Regions from separate parts of the Homo sapiens genome. Here regions 1 and 2 are each linked to region 3. The links are contacts of gene promoters, found by promoter capture Hi-C in blood cells and fetal thymus (Javierre and others, 2016). All regions are on one chromosome and are shown on one strand. The core of a region is centred on a gene start or on the middle of the fragment in contact, and the rest is flanking DNA. Distances in the headings are between cores, read along the strand shown. Region 1 has its middle 6.6 kb from the start of MIR223HG. Region 2 overlaps VSIG4 (V-set and immunoglobulin domain containing 4). Region 3 holds the start of MSN (moesin).

Region 1 (4,928 bases), core at 1-2,500, 340 kb after region 3:
GATTATATCTACTTTGTACCAATAAGTGCACCAGCAGGTCGCCCTACAAATCCCAAGGGGACTCAGATTCAGGTTCAGGTCCAGTCTCAAAGAAACCTTCATTGAGGGCCACCCATGGAGGTCCAAAACAGGTCAAAAGAAATCCCTAGACAAATGAGAAAATTCATCCCTCACAGTTGTATTATCACTTTGCAGTTTAGAAAGCTTTTTTCACATGTTAGGTGAGTATATATATATATATATATATATATATGTATATATATATATATATATGTATATATATATATAATATAAATAATGTTTATAATATCACTATAAATTATAGTATATAGTGATATATATATTATATATTACATAGTATCACTATGTTATGTACAACAAATAATCATATTCATTATAATAATGAAAAATTAGGTAACTAGTAATATAAATATAGTATAATTAATATTAATATTATGTATGTACACATATATACAAGGCCTGAGAACTTTACTTAGTCTAGATCATTCTTTAGGTCTTAAATATTTTTTGAAGAAAGTCTTCCCTAAACTCTCATACCAGATTAGGTTTACTATTATTTGCTCTTATAATACTCTATATTTATCCTGTATAATACTTATATTTTCATCCTGACATACTTTGGCAAGTGCCTGTGTCCCTCATTTGAATATGAGTTCCAGGAAGGCAGGGCCTTGGTCAGTCTTGCTATCTTTGACACCCTTGTTACCTAGACCACTTGACCAATCTGTGAATGGGAGAGAGAAGAGGGCCCTTCAAAGACCATACAGTTCACCCTATTTAGAAATGGAGAGTGAGGGAGTGATATAGTTTGGATATGTGTCCCCACCCAAATCTCATGTTGAAATGTAATCCCCAATGTTGGAGGTGGGGCCTGGTGGGACATAATTGGATCATGGGGGTGGTTTCTCATGAATGGTTTAACTCCATCCCCCTTGGTACTGTTGTTGCAAAAGTGATTAAGTTCTCATGAGATCTGGTTGTTTAAAAGTGTGTAACACCTCCCTCCTTTCTCCTTGATCTCTCTTACCATGTGATGTGCCTGCACCCCTTTGTCTTCCACCATGGGAAGCTTCCTGAGGCCTCCCCAGAAGCAGATGCTGCTATGCTTCCTGTACAGCCTGCAGAACTATGTGCCAATTAAACTTTTTAAAAATATATAAATTGCCCAGTCTCAGGTATTTCTTTACAGCAATATGAGAATGAACTGATACAGGGAGACCAATACCCAGAGCAAAAAGAAAACTTCCCAAGGTCATGTTATAAGCCATGACACAGCTGGGCCTGGAACTCAGGTCTCCTGACACTCTGCCTAGAGCTATTTTCAATGAACCTTCAAACCTGATGGCTTCCAGGAACCAGGTCATCAGGAACCAGAGTCCAAGGAAGGTCAAAGCTTTCAGTATTCAGATATTACCTCATTTTCTGGTCTTGCAGAACAGGAAGATTTTTTTTTCATGAACAAATATTTGCTGAGAACCTACTATTATAAACAAGACAGCTCTAGCACTAGGGATATAGTTAAGAATAAAATAAAATAACTACCCTCATGGAGCTTACACTCTAGTAGGGGACATAAACAATAAACAAAACTATAACATGGTAGAAGCAAAGTCAAAAGGCAAATGACAAACTAGTGGAAATAATTACAATTCTCATTACATACAAAGGAAAAATTTCTCTAACATACAAAGTACACCCAAAATCAATTAAGAAAAAGAAATCAGCAGTCTAATTGAAAACTGGGTATGACAGACATGGTTCCTGCTCTCATGGAGTTTGCAATTGAGTGGAATAAACCCCTTTTTTCTTTAAGGCTACGGGAAACAGCTAGGCAGCAGGGTTTGAGGGGGCCAAAGGATATGGTGAGTCATTGAGTAGCCTCTCTTATGCCATCTTAGCAATAAACTTCTTAATTTTAGAATTTGGAATTCTAAATTCTGACAAAATTATAAATCTCAGCTTTGCCACTTACTAAATATGTGACGTTGAAGGAAGTTGCTTAATTTCTTCATGCTTCAATGCCTACATTTGCGAAATAGAAATGATTCCTATTTTATAAGGTTATTGAGAGTAATAAGTGATATAATAGAGAGTGAGAGTAGGTGGTACATAATAAGTACTCAACAAAAGTGTTTTTCTTCCAATTCCCACTTCCTATTTTATAAGGTTATTGAGAGTAATAAGTGATGTAATAGAGAGTGAGAGTAGGTGGTACATAATAAGTACTCAACAAAAGTGTTTTTCTTCCAATTCCCACTTCCTATTCTGCCTAGAACCGATAATAGAAGGCAGTGTCCCTTCTGATGCCAATATGAAGCTTTTCTGCTTCTTACCTTGCATTATCTGGCCTTTACAGGAGCTCTCAGGATTCCACTTTGTAACCCCATGAGGTATCAATTTTTTAGGGATTGACTGATTCCTGAATCAGTGCCAAATCTAGTTCTAGCAAATGTTTAGCTGTGGTGAAAGCTCAAGGGTCTGTTCTAAATTTTCTTTTTGTTTCCCAAAAGGCACAATTCTTGCCCTTCCTTTACTCAGAAGACAAACTAAGAAGATGAAAATAGTCTGTGTGTGCCAAGTCAATGATATCACGGGCAACTACCCCAGTCTGAATTAGGAAATATCTCTATACTGATATATAGATACATACAGATATATAGATATATTCATTTAATTTTTTATTGTAAATTTATAATTGTATTTGTGGGATACAAAGTGATGTTATGATTTATGAATACAATGTGGAGTAATTAAATTTAATATATCCATTGTCTCAAATACTTATAATTTGTTGAATAATTTGAAATGTACTCTCTTAGCAATTCTGAAACATGCAATATACTATTATTAACTGTATTCACCATGCTGTGCAATAGATCTCAAAAAAACCCTATTCCTTCTGTCTGAAACTTTGTACCCTTTGAAAATTATCTCCCCATTCCACCCACCCCCAAGCCTCTGTAACCGTCATTCTACTCTCCGCTTCTATAACTTTCATTATCTTAGAATCCACCTGTAAGTGAGATTATGTGGCATTTGTCTTCCTGTGCCTGGCTTATTTCACTTCACGTAATCTCCAATTCCATTTATGTTGTTGAAAATGACAGAATTTCCTCTTATTTATTTATTTTTTGAGACAAGGTTTTCCTCTGTTGCCTAGGCTGGAGTGCAGTGGCTATTCACAGGTGACCATAGTGCACTACAGCCTTGAACTCCTGGGCTCAAGTGATCCTCCTGCTTCAGCCTCCCCAGTAGCTGGGACTACAGGTGTGATGTGAATAGTGGGAGTGAGAGACAGACTAGAGTGAGAATATATATTTTAAATAAATACATGTTTGTTCCTTCCAAATATACTATTTACAATAGGCTATTGAAAGTTGATTCCTCATTCATTTCTTCATTGTCCATTTAAAATTTTTCCCAAGGGAGTGTATATTTAGGGCAACTCGAATCTATGCTCCTGAGTTGCAGCTCTCAAGCTTGGCCCAGATAAACTCTTTACTCATTTTAAGAAAAAAACAAACAAACAAAACAAAAACAGCTACTGCTTAGTAAAAACCTTTAGGTGGGCCATTATAGGAAATAGATTAAAATGGTTGATTAGGGTCACTTCAGTTATTTCTGCCATAGATGGAAGGTTCTGAAGGACTCTAAGTGGGAGTGAGGTATGGGTAGTAAGTAGAACCAGTTTGGTTTTCTGTCTTTAAACAACTCCCTGGAACTCCTATTTTATTTACTTCATTTATTTTGTCTTTCTAAGAAGCTAAACAAAAGCTTCAGCTCAGACTTATCTAACAATCATAAATTGGAAATTAATGAGGTTTTCTTGGAAAAAACTGCCCTTAAAGACTGAGATGATAACTGACTTGAATTTGACATTTTCCAGCCAGAGACATATTGTATATTTTTTTGTAGATTGCTCCAAAATTTCTACCTTTCATAAATTGTTGCATGATATTTATATCCTACATCTGCCATTTAATAGGTAATTATAGTATCTCCCTCATAAGGTTGTTGTTAGGATTACATAAACTAACATATGTAAAGGGCTTCAAACAGTGCCTGGCACTTAGTAAGCTCACAATACTTGTTAATTATTGTTATTCCAGTACAAAATGGATCTCCTGATAGGTCGAACCTCTTTGCCAGGTTTCCTCCAGAGCACATTTGGTGTGTTGGATAGGCCTTTGGGCTACTATTATTCTACGATATCTATAGATACTTAAAAATGCTCTCAGGCTTATATTTGCCATTTTGTATCGGTAGTCTCCCTATTCACACAAGCTCACCATATTCTTTCCTATCTCTGCACCTTTACTTGGGTTCTTTCCTCTGCCTGAAATGCCTTTCTCTGATTATTGATCCTGTTATCCTTCAAGGCTCTTTTAAAATTCGGCCTCTTCTGTGAAGTCTCTAATCCAACCAGTTGAAATTAACTTTTTTTTCCTGTTTGTTGCCATAGTCTGGACCCCTAAAATCCTAGGCTTGAATATAGAAGGGCACTGCATCACATATATACACTTTCTGGCTTCTCATGTCTCAAACGCCCAACATAGCATACAAGTCCTTTCTTAGTTTGGCCCCCGGCTTAACTCTTCTATTTGCTTTGTGCTATTTTTTCCTTTGCTCACTCTTTTTCAAGCCATACCAGCCTTTTATCTTCTTGGAATATGCCACATTATTCTCCATCTCAGAACCTTTATACATGTTGCTTCTTCTGCTTGGAATTGCCTTGCACCCATTATCCACTTGGCTCACTACTTTTCATTTTTCCGTCTCACTTTAAAAGTTACTTCCTTAGAGAAGTTTTCTTGACCTATCCAAGTCTGGTGGATTATGTTATCCTGTTACGTGTTCTCCCTGCTCTCTGATCTTCCCCCTTTCTTGACATATTTAAAAAATTTGTT
Region 2 (5,084 bases), core at 1,343-3,842, 360 kb after region 3:
CTGACTTTCCAGCTTCACCAAAAATGCTACATACCTTATTAAGATTCTGGTCAGTTACTTCTAGCCACAAAGATTCTTCCCATCACACGCTCTGGTCAAGTCCCCAGCTTCCTTCTTTCTCAAAACATATTTCCACTGAGCCACTTGAGACACATATTCCCATTATGCCTAAAAGCTGAAAGAATCAACTGGACTTGGCTTCCAGTCCTAGATCTGTTATTTACTTTCTGTATGACTATGGTAGGCAGAATAATGGTCCTCTAAAGATATTCACATCCAAATTCCTGGAACCTGTCAGTATGTTAGTTTACATAGTAAAAAGGAACAGAGATTTGAGAATGCTACATTGTTAGTTTTGAAAATGGAGGAAGGGGGCCATGAGCCAAAGAACGTGGGTAGCTTCTAGAAGCCAGAAAAGAAAGACAAGGAAATTAATTCTTCTCCAAACCCTCCAAAGGGAACATAGCCTTGCTGACTGACATTTTGATTTTAGCTCAGTGATAATTGTGTCAGACTTATTTCCAGAAGTGGAAGATAATATATTTATGCTGTTTTAAGATACTAGGTTTGGGGTAAGTTTTTACAGCAGCCATGGAAAAATGAATACAGTGACCTTAGACAAAACTTTGACTGTCACTAGGCCTTAGTTACCCCATAAGTTCAATGAAAAGATTGGATGATGTCTAAAGCACTTTTAGCTATAATATTCTGAATCTAAGATGCTAGGTCAGGGGGGATAGAGAGGCGTGAGGAAAGGAACCTCAGTGTACTTAGGATTTGTTGCTGCAACTGGCTTGTTTTCATGAGACTCTAAGATATCGTGTCCTAGGAATCCAGTATTTGTGGTCCTCAGAGTGTCTTGTTGGGACTGAGAGAGCTCAAGTTATAAGCTGGTACAAATCGAAGAAATATTCTCTTTTGAAGAGAGTCAAGTACTAAAAAACTTGGTAGAGAAAATAGGGCGCAGACCCAACATCTAATAACTTTGCCCAAGGTTATTTTCTCATTTTTCCAAACCAACTCCCTATGAGGCAATTTCTAACTTCTCTTCTCCCAGTAGATGTTCTTCTCGGAGAGGAACGGAGCTATGGAAATCTTGAAGCCAAAGATGGCAATGCAAATGTGGAACATAAAACAGGTTTGAGTGCTGCCAAGGGATAGCCAAAAAACTCTGCAATCAGGAATGGAGAGTTACAAAGAGCATTTGGAAGTCCACTCTCTCAATTATACACAGGCAGAGAATGAGTACCAGGAGTGATAGTTATCAAACTATTTAATTCCAACCAGTCACAACAGATGCCTACTGTAGACTTGGAGTCTTAGAGATTCCTTGGTATACCTTTTGTTGCATGACCATGGGGGTGGTCTAGAGAGTTCTGAGGAATGGGACAAGGCAGCCCCAGGTAATAATGGAGGGCTCAGGGGTTAAGGGGAGCAGCTAATTATCAATTGGTGTGAGAGTGTTCTATTATTTCAACAGTCAATGTAGTCATGTGAAGGCATACCAACTGACTATCAGATGCAGGTGAAACACAAAAGATTTATTTGGGATTTGAATCTCTGAGACCCTGACTTGGGAATTTTCAAGGCTTTGGAGGAATCAGAAATCAGCTTCAAGCGGCTTGAAGAGCCCTGGTTAAGAGCTCAAGCAATGACACTCAGCCATTATCCTTACCTGGTTGAGGTCATGATGTCATAATGTCCCTATCCATATTCTTGCTCAGAATGTTTGGAAAGCATATTACTATGACAACAGAGAACTAAATAAAGGGCACATTTATCACTCCCCTTAACCTCACTCTGACTTTGCTCATCTCTGGATCTGTATCTCTCTCTCTACATCCTACCCACTTTACCCATCCTCAGTGCCCTTGACCATTGCTTGGCACATAGCAGGTAATGATTTGCAGATTTCAATGCTGTAGAACAGTGTGCATAAGGGAAAGTTTTGGTCACAAAGCTTAGAGTCAAGAAGAAAAGATAGAAATCCTGACAATATTCCTACCTGGCCCAGCACTGGTCTCTCCAAGGTAGCCATCCATGTCAGTGGTCCAGTCCCAGGACTGCTTCACTGTAGATGTTGCTATGAATATAGAGAATAGGGTCAGAGATGTCTCTCTTCTTTCAAAAAGTTGAGAGATAGGAGATGGTTGCAAAGGTTGGAGTCCTTCCCTGGCCATTTGTGCTGTACTTTCCAGGGTACCTGACCATGTTATCAACCACTAGTACCATGAGATAAGGCATCTTCATTTCTTACTGTTAGGTGTGGGCAGTGAGAAGAATTCCCATCGAGGGGAGGTAATGTACCCAAAGTCACACAGCAAGTCAAACTAGGAGCAGAATAGAATTTAGTGTTCTTGTTTTTTGTATTTCCAATGGGAGTAATTCTAACCCTCTCTTTCCTTTTGCCTCAGAAGTTTTCACAAAAAAAGAGTATATATTCATCATTGTTACCTTTCTTTTGTTTCCATTCCTTTACTGCTATGTTCTCTCTGAGGAACCAAGTGACTGTTTATTAGCCATTCCATGGCATTGTGATTCCTTTCTTGGCTACGATGACACCATTTTGAACCTCTACTACTTCCTCAGACTCTAGCAAAACTCACCTTTCAAGGGGTATGTCATGGTTGTAGGTGCCTCAGTCTTGGTCTTGAGTAGCTTTGAGGAGTCTGCAAGGAAAAGGGAACCGATTGAAGGGACCTGGTACCCTTTGGTGAATAGTTTAATGCCCTAGGGAAATAGGAAGTAAGTAAAGGCCATTCAGGTCCATACTTGGACCTGCCTCAACACTTCTGTCATGATGCTGGTAAGTCCTGTGTTGCTTGTTCATCTTTCATACATCAATCAAGGACAGAGTTTTTAACCCAGGATTAATAGATCTCGAAGGAACCTGTAGCTAGAGTTCAGAGAGTCAGTCAACTTGGATGGGAAAATATATTTTATTTTTACTAACTTCTAACTGAGACCTAGTAATTAATTCTCTTGAGAGAAACTTGGGAAGTATCATAAAGAAAGTGGCAATGGGTGACATCAGTGAAAATGGTGACATAATAACCTCCAGAAATTTACCCTTTAACAACATCAGTGAAATAATGCAAAATTTGACGTAATCAACTTTTTTTTTTTTTTTTTTTTTTTTTTAGAATTTTGCAAAATAGCCAAAGGTTTGCAGCACCTTAGACAGGATTTATGGAAGAAAAATATCCCAGTTTTGGTAAGAACAGCAAGCTTTGTGCTGTTTTAACTTCTCCTAGTCCCCTTACCCCTTCTACCTCAGAGGTAATCTTGAACATACAACCCCATTCCAGGTGCTGGAGTGAGCCCAACAAACTTCATTTTTGAATAATTGCCATTATTTGGCCTGTCTGGTGGTTCCCTGAAAGACCTGACTCAAAAGACTTGTTTTATTGGTCACCCAGTGCTAAGAGCCTCTCCCCAGGGATGGGGTAGCATTTGTCACACAGCTGCCTGAGGCAATGGATAATAGGCGAGAAAACAAAAAAAACTAACCAAAATAGCCTTAAAAATGGTTGAGGAATAAGATTTCCATAGGGATTTTGAAGAGTTCTGACACAGTTCTGGGAAACTAGGAGGCCACACACAAGCACAGGGCCATGTACCTGCTCAGAAAAGACATGAGAAAACCATAAGCTTCTCCCTCTTGCTAGCAGAGGAAACAGCATGCTCCGTTTTAGATGTGGCGAAACATATTAGTAGATAAGTCTGGATAGGTAGGCTGAAAACAGACTAAAAGGGTTTGGGCTTTGTTCTTTAGTTGGAAAGATCCATGGGGTGTAACAGAAGGTTACACCTTTTGAGAAAGGTTTACTTCCTTTTGAGAAAGGAAGCAAAAATTGTTCAGTCTATTTTTTTTGGAAATAATTCTGACAACAGTGTGGTAGGATTTTCAAAGGTAAGGCAATAGCATATTTTCCCCATTCATTAACAAATACAGTATTCATCTAGTGTCTAGTGTCTTCTTTGTGCCAGATACTTTGCTGGGCTCTGAAAAACAGCAATGAAGTAGACAGGTAGAATTCTGCACTCTTGAATTTTATAATCTAGTGACATAAAATATATACTCAATAAATATTGAATAAGTTGATGACTTCGTAAGAATGTATGAACATGGGGAGAACATTTAGAAGATGATTGAAATTGTTTTTTAAAAAAGAATATGAGACCATGAGGGTATAGGAAGAGAAAGAAAGAGCCTAATAAGGTATCTGATTCAGTAGGTGAATTCACAGCACTTGGTAATATTGATGATTATTTGACGATGCGAGGTAAAAGAGAAGGAGGAGTCAAAGGTACTGCTATGTTTTCTAACAGGTTTGAGGAACAGGTTTGGTGAGTAAAAGGTACGATCAGTTTTGAACACGCTGAAATTAGAAATGAAGCTGTCCAGAAGGTAACTAGACACTGGGATCTAGCAGTCAGGAAAAAATAAATACAGATAATATTATGGTTGGAGAGTCATCAGACTACAGGTGATATTTGAAGCCACAGAAGTAAATAAAATCTCCTGATAATATAGAAATACATGCAGAGATGAATAAGAATTGAGTCTTTGAGAACATTTACAATTAAGGAGTGAATGAAAAAAGAGCCAACAAAGGTGTCTCAGAAGGATCATTCAGGAAGGTCTTAGAAGAACCAAGATAAGTTGGTGTCATCAATAGCAGTGATTAAAAGAATATTGAGGTGGAAGAAATGGCCAACAGGATCCACTGCTACACAGATGTTGAGGAGGAAAAGTATGAATGGAGAGGTCTTGGGATTTGGTGATATGGAGGTTAATGATGACCCCAAATTACAAAGTTATGTTGTGGTGAATGAATTGAGAGGTTCAGCTGGTGGAAGCTACCTTCGTGAGAAGGTTGGTAGTGAACATAGGAGAGATGAGGTGGCAGATGGAGAGAAAGATTTTTGAAAAATAACATATATATATGTATGTATTAGGCTTGCATACTGACATATATACATATATTATACATGCATATCTATTTGGCTTAGGTAGAGGATAAAGGGTATTGCAGGGCATTGGAGTAGCTGATGTTAAGAGTTCAGGAGGAGGGGCTTGT
Region 3 (4,695 bases), core at 731-3,230:
TTCCTTTCTCATCCCTTTATAATGTCAGAGTGGGAAAGGACCTTGGAAGCCCCGGAGTCCAGTCCTTTCTTGCTACAGAAATGGAAACTCAAGCCCAGAGAGGGGGAGGGAATTACCCAAGGCCACATAGTGGTCATAGGATGAGTTAATGGCAGAGCTATACGTAGAAGCCAGGTGTCCTGACCTCTCAAGTATCCTTTCCATTGTCTCAAACTGGCTTACCATCTGTGGTGCCTTACCTCACAAAGGATACTCAGACCATGCCTTCACATGGTTGCCAGTGGAGAGGAGGAAAAAAGGACTATGGCCAGCCACTTTCAAACTAAAACTCGGACTTATTTTATTTTACTTTTTTTGGAGACGGAGTCTTGTGCTATTGCCCAGGCTGGAGTGCAGTGGCCCAATCTGGGCTCAGTGCAGCCTCCGCCTCCCGGAAGCGATTCTCCTGCCTCATCCTCCCGAGTGCCTGGAACTACGTGCCATCACACCCGGCTAATTTTTTTGTTTTTTTTTTTCGCATTTTTAATAGAGATGAGGTTTCGCCATGTTGAGCAGGCTGGTCTCAAACTCTTGACCTCAAGTGATCTGCAGGTCTTGGCCTCCCAAAGTGGTAGGATTACAGGTGTAAGCCACTGCACATGGTCTCACTTACTATTATTATTATTATTTTTGAGACAGAGTTTCACTCTGTTGCCCTGGCTGGAGTGCACTGGCTCAGTCTTGACTCACTGTAACCTCCGCCTCCCGGGTTCAAGCGATTCTCCCTCCTCAGCCTCCCGAGTAGCTCGGATTACAGGCACGTGCCCGGCTAATTTTTGTAATTTTAGTAGAGACGGGGTTTCACCATGTTGGCCAGGCTGGTCTTGAACTCCTGACCTCAGGTGATCAGCCCGCCTCAGCCTCCCAAAGTGCTGGGATTACAGGAGTGAGCCACTATGCCCGGCTCTCACTTATTTTTTTTGTATAGATATGGGAGGGGGTCTTGATATGCTCCCCAGGCTGGTCTCGAATTCCTGGGCTCAAGCAATCCTCCTGCATCAGCCTCTCAAAGTGTTAAGATTACAGTCATGAGCCACCGCACTCAGCCTAAAACTCAGACTTGACCAGACGACTTCAACAGTCTAGAACACTGCCATCCTGGGATTCTGTGACCTTGACAAGAAGGAGAAAGGGAGCTGGCAGACAAACCCCAAGGGTGTGGACTAGGGAGGTCACATCTAACCTGAGGGAATTATAGCCAGCCCCATCAGGACATCAGAAAGTGAATGTACTGGGAGAGGGGCTAAAGGATCAGGTCACTGATTTGAGGAAGGTGAAGACTGGGATTTAGATGAAGGAAAGATAAATGAGGACTGAGCAAGGATGGGTAGGAAATATGATGGGGAGAGTCCTACGGAAGAGAATGGATGAAGTGTTTTAAGAGGTGAGGCAGTTTAGCCAAAAGAAGAGAAGTTTCCTGTGGACCTGAGATCTTCAGGCCTTTGAGGAGCTGTTAGGGACAACAGGGGATCTGTGTGGCCTCAGGGAGCAGAACTGAGATCCATGGATGGAAGCCATAGAGAAAAGGAGTTCAGACACGGCAAGAACTTTCTAAGAGCCAGAGCTGTCTAGAGAAGGAAAAGATAGGTAGTGAGCTCCCCATCAGTGGAAAGTTGCAGTCAGGGGCTGAGTAAGCATCTGTCAGGGCCCAGGGTCTGGGCCCTGAGTGGGGGTGGGGCTGGAAGGCCAGGACGTGGAAGGCTAGGGGCTGTGACCAGGGTGGGAGAGGAGCCGGGTGGGTCTGGGTGGGGAGTGGTAGCTACCCTAGGTCCGCCCGGGCCCAGCCGGGCCCCCCACGTGGCCGCTGTGGCCTGGCTGCGCCGGGCCTGGCCAGGCGGGGCTGGGCGGGGCAAGGCCAGCGGTCGGCGGGGAGGCGGGCGCGAGGGCGGGGAGCGGCGCGGAAGCCGGGCCACATAAAGGAGCGGGCGGCGCGACAGGGGCGGCTCTTTCCTGGGTGGGGTTTGTGAAGTCGTGGCCCGTTAGCAGGAAGCCTAACAGTCGCCCCGACGCTAGTGAGGGACCCAATCTGAGTCCCCGGCCAGCCGAATCCAAGCCGTGTGTACTGCGTGCTCAGCACTGCCCGACAGTCCTAGCTAAACTTCGCCAACTCCGCTGCCTTTGCCGCCACCATGCCCAAAACGGTGAGTGCCGGAGGTGGGCGCTGTCGACCCCAATGGCTCTGGCTGAGCCTCATAGCCCTTTGCTGATGGCTGAGGGCTTGGCCAGCCACCGGCCCGCCTGGGACGCCGCGCCCTCCGCCATAGCCAAGGGTAGGGAGGGGACCGGAGTGGGATCCTGGTCTGGTGCGCCCTCAGGGGTTGAGGGGGTGTCCAGGCTGGAAGTTTGGACGGGGCGAGGCCTGCCTCTTTCTCAGGTTCCAGTTCCCTGTGTCTGAGATGCAACAGTCAGGACGGCTTCGTTGGGGCCTGGGGTTTCCCCTTTTCCCTGATGGGCCATGGGCACAGAGGAGAGGATTCTGGTCCAGAAGACAACACTTTCCCCAACCCAGGAATTGGCACCTTTCTGGGGCAAGGCTGCCAATGTCCAAGAGGGGACATGGGAACAGAGAAGCAGGGAGAAAGGAGGGAGCCGCTCGGGGCGGATCCGGCACCCCCACTCATCTTTCCCACAGCCTCACCGGGTGGCTCCAGCTGTTTTCCACTAGGAGGTGAGGAGAGAGATGTGAGGAAATCGTCATCGAGGCTGCACCCGAGAGCACCAACACTTATTTAGGCACCAGTCTGAGGAGAGGCCTACCCCATCTCCTGGGAGAGAGGACCGGTTTCTCCCTCCTCTCCACCTCCAAATCCCTGCCCCTCCTATTGCTTAATGCCTCTCTATCTCCTCCTATCCCCTCCGGACTATTTTGTGTGGTGTGGGTTTTCTCGTGGGGCCACACCTTTCTAGAGTGGTGGTTGATTTGGGGATGCGTCTCCACCCCACTGGCTGTTACGAGAGGAACAGAAGCCTCCTGGGAGTGGGGATAGGGGGGCCGGATGCCCAGGAGGGAGAGGGGAGGAGGGGTGTGCCTGACTAATGAGCTCTGCTTGCTTTTGTGCAAGTCATGCCAAATGGCTGCTGAGGCCCTTCCCTTGCTCAGAAAGGCCTGGTGACCACCCTGGCTTGAGTCCCTTAGGCCAAACAGCTTGTTGAGCTGGCCTAGGCAATGCAGTGCTCCCAAACATGTCTCCCCAGGACTGCTTGAGCCTTGTAGAGGTGAGATAGTGACTAGTAGCCTTGAAAAGGGCTGAAGGTCCCCTGGGATGAGAGGAGGAGAGTTGGGGGCCCAGCCTTTTGGGTTTGTGATGAGCTTTGGTTGCCACGTTACTGTATACCAGCCTCACTGCCAAGTCGTTCTTGCCTTTCCAGAACCTTGTCCTTCAGAAACACCAAGTTTTCAAAAAGTATGTGCTTTCACTGTCTATCTCCTTTAAATTGCTTGTGGTTTTAGGACATGAGGCTTTTACACACTTTGTTCCCTAGTCCCCGCCCCCAAAGAGAGAGAGTAATGGTTTTGGAGAGAGGGGAAAATATCCCATTGTCTGCCAAAACAAGATTATAAAGATCCTGTCAGGAGCGGCTCTTTGGGTCTCTCTCTGTGGTTGACTCCTGACTCCTCTTAAGGTGCGGCTTTGCCTGAACAGTTGGGTGGATCTCTGGGAATAGACATTGCTCCACGGTCTTTCTTCTGTAGTGGCATATCTCATCCTCAGTTCTGAGATAGCCCACTTTGAAACACAGCTTCATGGGCCTGGAAGTTGCTTCAAACTTGCATTAACCGTCTCATCTGAGTCAAAGTGGCAAAGAAGACAAGACAGCGTGTTTATTGTTTTCCTGGGAATGGAGAGAGAATGGAGTATAAGCTGTTTGTAGTCAGGCCTGGAGTAATGAGGGTACCTAAATACTGAAGGCATTTTTATGCAGATTGACTGAAACCTGAATCAAATTGGAAGGAGAGGGCTGAATTTTGATAGACTGGAAGTATTAGAGAATTTTCTATACTTTGACTCAAGGAATGGTCAACTTTTAGGAAAAGCAACTATATTATGTCTGTTAAGATCATAGAATCTTAACCTGAAAGGGACCTTGGAGACTATTTAGTACAACTCTCTTAAAAAAAAAAACTAAAACTAAAACAAAAATCTAATGAGGCTATTGAGACCTACAGGGAAAGACCTACCTAAGGGCACATGGTGACTGAGCCAAGATTGGGGTCCAGGCTTTCTGATGCTCATCTCATTGACCCTTTATTCTGACCCAATGATTGAGTTCTTGACATTTGAGTTCCCTTTCTTGCTCCAAACAAATTGCCCACTGTTCTCAGACCTTTATGGTCCTCAGATAAAAGGAAATGAGTAATTTGAGCAAAGTGGCCAAGGTTGACATTTGTGTGGTCTCCTGGTAAGGTTCGGTAGTGTCACCAGGTGCCTTCTGTTACTTTTCTTATTCCTCATACCAAGGCCAAGGTGTTCAGGGGCACACCCTAGTTCACTGAATACCAACCAGTAATTTTAATTAAAAGGGGAAAAAATTTCCCTTTCTCTGCTCCATTTTCATTTATGTGCTTTAGGCTATTTCTAGCGTGTGACAGATGGAGAAAGGTAGTGGAAAATCAAACTCGTTCATTCATATTGCAGCATGTCTACAACCTATCTA

What was found. Contacts are between HindIII fragments. The CHiCAGO score rates a contact against its expected background, and 5 or more counts as called.
Region 1: a fragment that was not itself captured here is called in contact with the fragment with the promoter of MSN in region 3 in 2 of 17 cell types (non-activated CD4 T cells and M0 macrophages); the score reaches 6.4 in non-activated CD4 T cells.
Region 2: a fragment that was not itself captured here is called in contact with the fragment with the promoter of MSN in region 3 in 2 of 17 cell types (neutrophils and non-activated CD4 T cells); the score reaches 6.0 in neutrophils.

Annotation. Positions count from the first base shown.
Region 1 is chrX:66,006,414-66,011,341 of GRCh38, forward strand. No RefSeq gene overlaps it. Among named protein-coding and RNA genes, the nearest start is that of MIR223HG, 6.6 kb to the right of the region's middle. The HindIII fragment of the contact is 324 bases long and covers 1,089-1,412 here.
Region 2 is chrX:66,025,444-66,030,527 of GRCh38, forward strand. It overlaps VSIG4 (V-set and immunoglobulin domain containing 4), which reads right to left. Exons shown (of 8, transcript NM_007268.3): 4 at 2,607-2,669; 5 at 2,006-2,083. Among named protein-coding and RNA genes, the nearest start is that of MIR223, 9.1 kb to the left of the region's middle. The HindIII fragment of the contact is 1,268 bases long and covers 1,959-3,226 here.
Region 3 is chrX:65,665,674-65,670,368 of GRCh38, forward strand. It overlaps MSN (moesin), which reads left to right and starts at 1,981. Exons shown (of 13, transcript NM_002444.3): 1 at 1,981-2,180. The coding sequence starts at 2,169. RefSeq lists a silencer at 1,673-2,002. The HindIII fragment of the contact is 6,503 bases long and covers 1-4,695 here.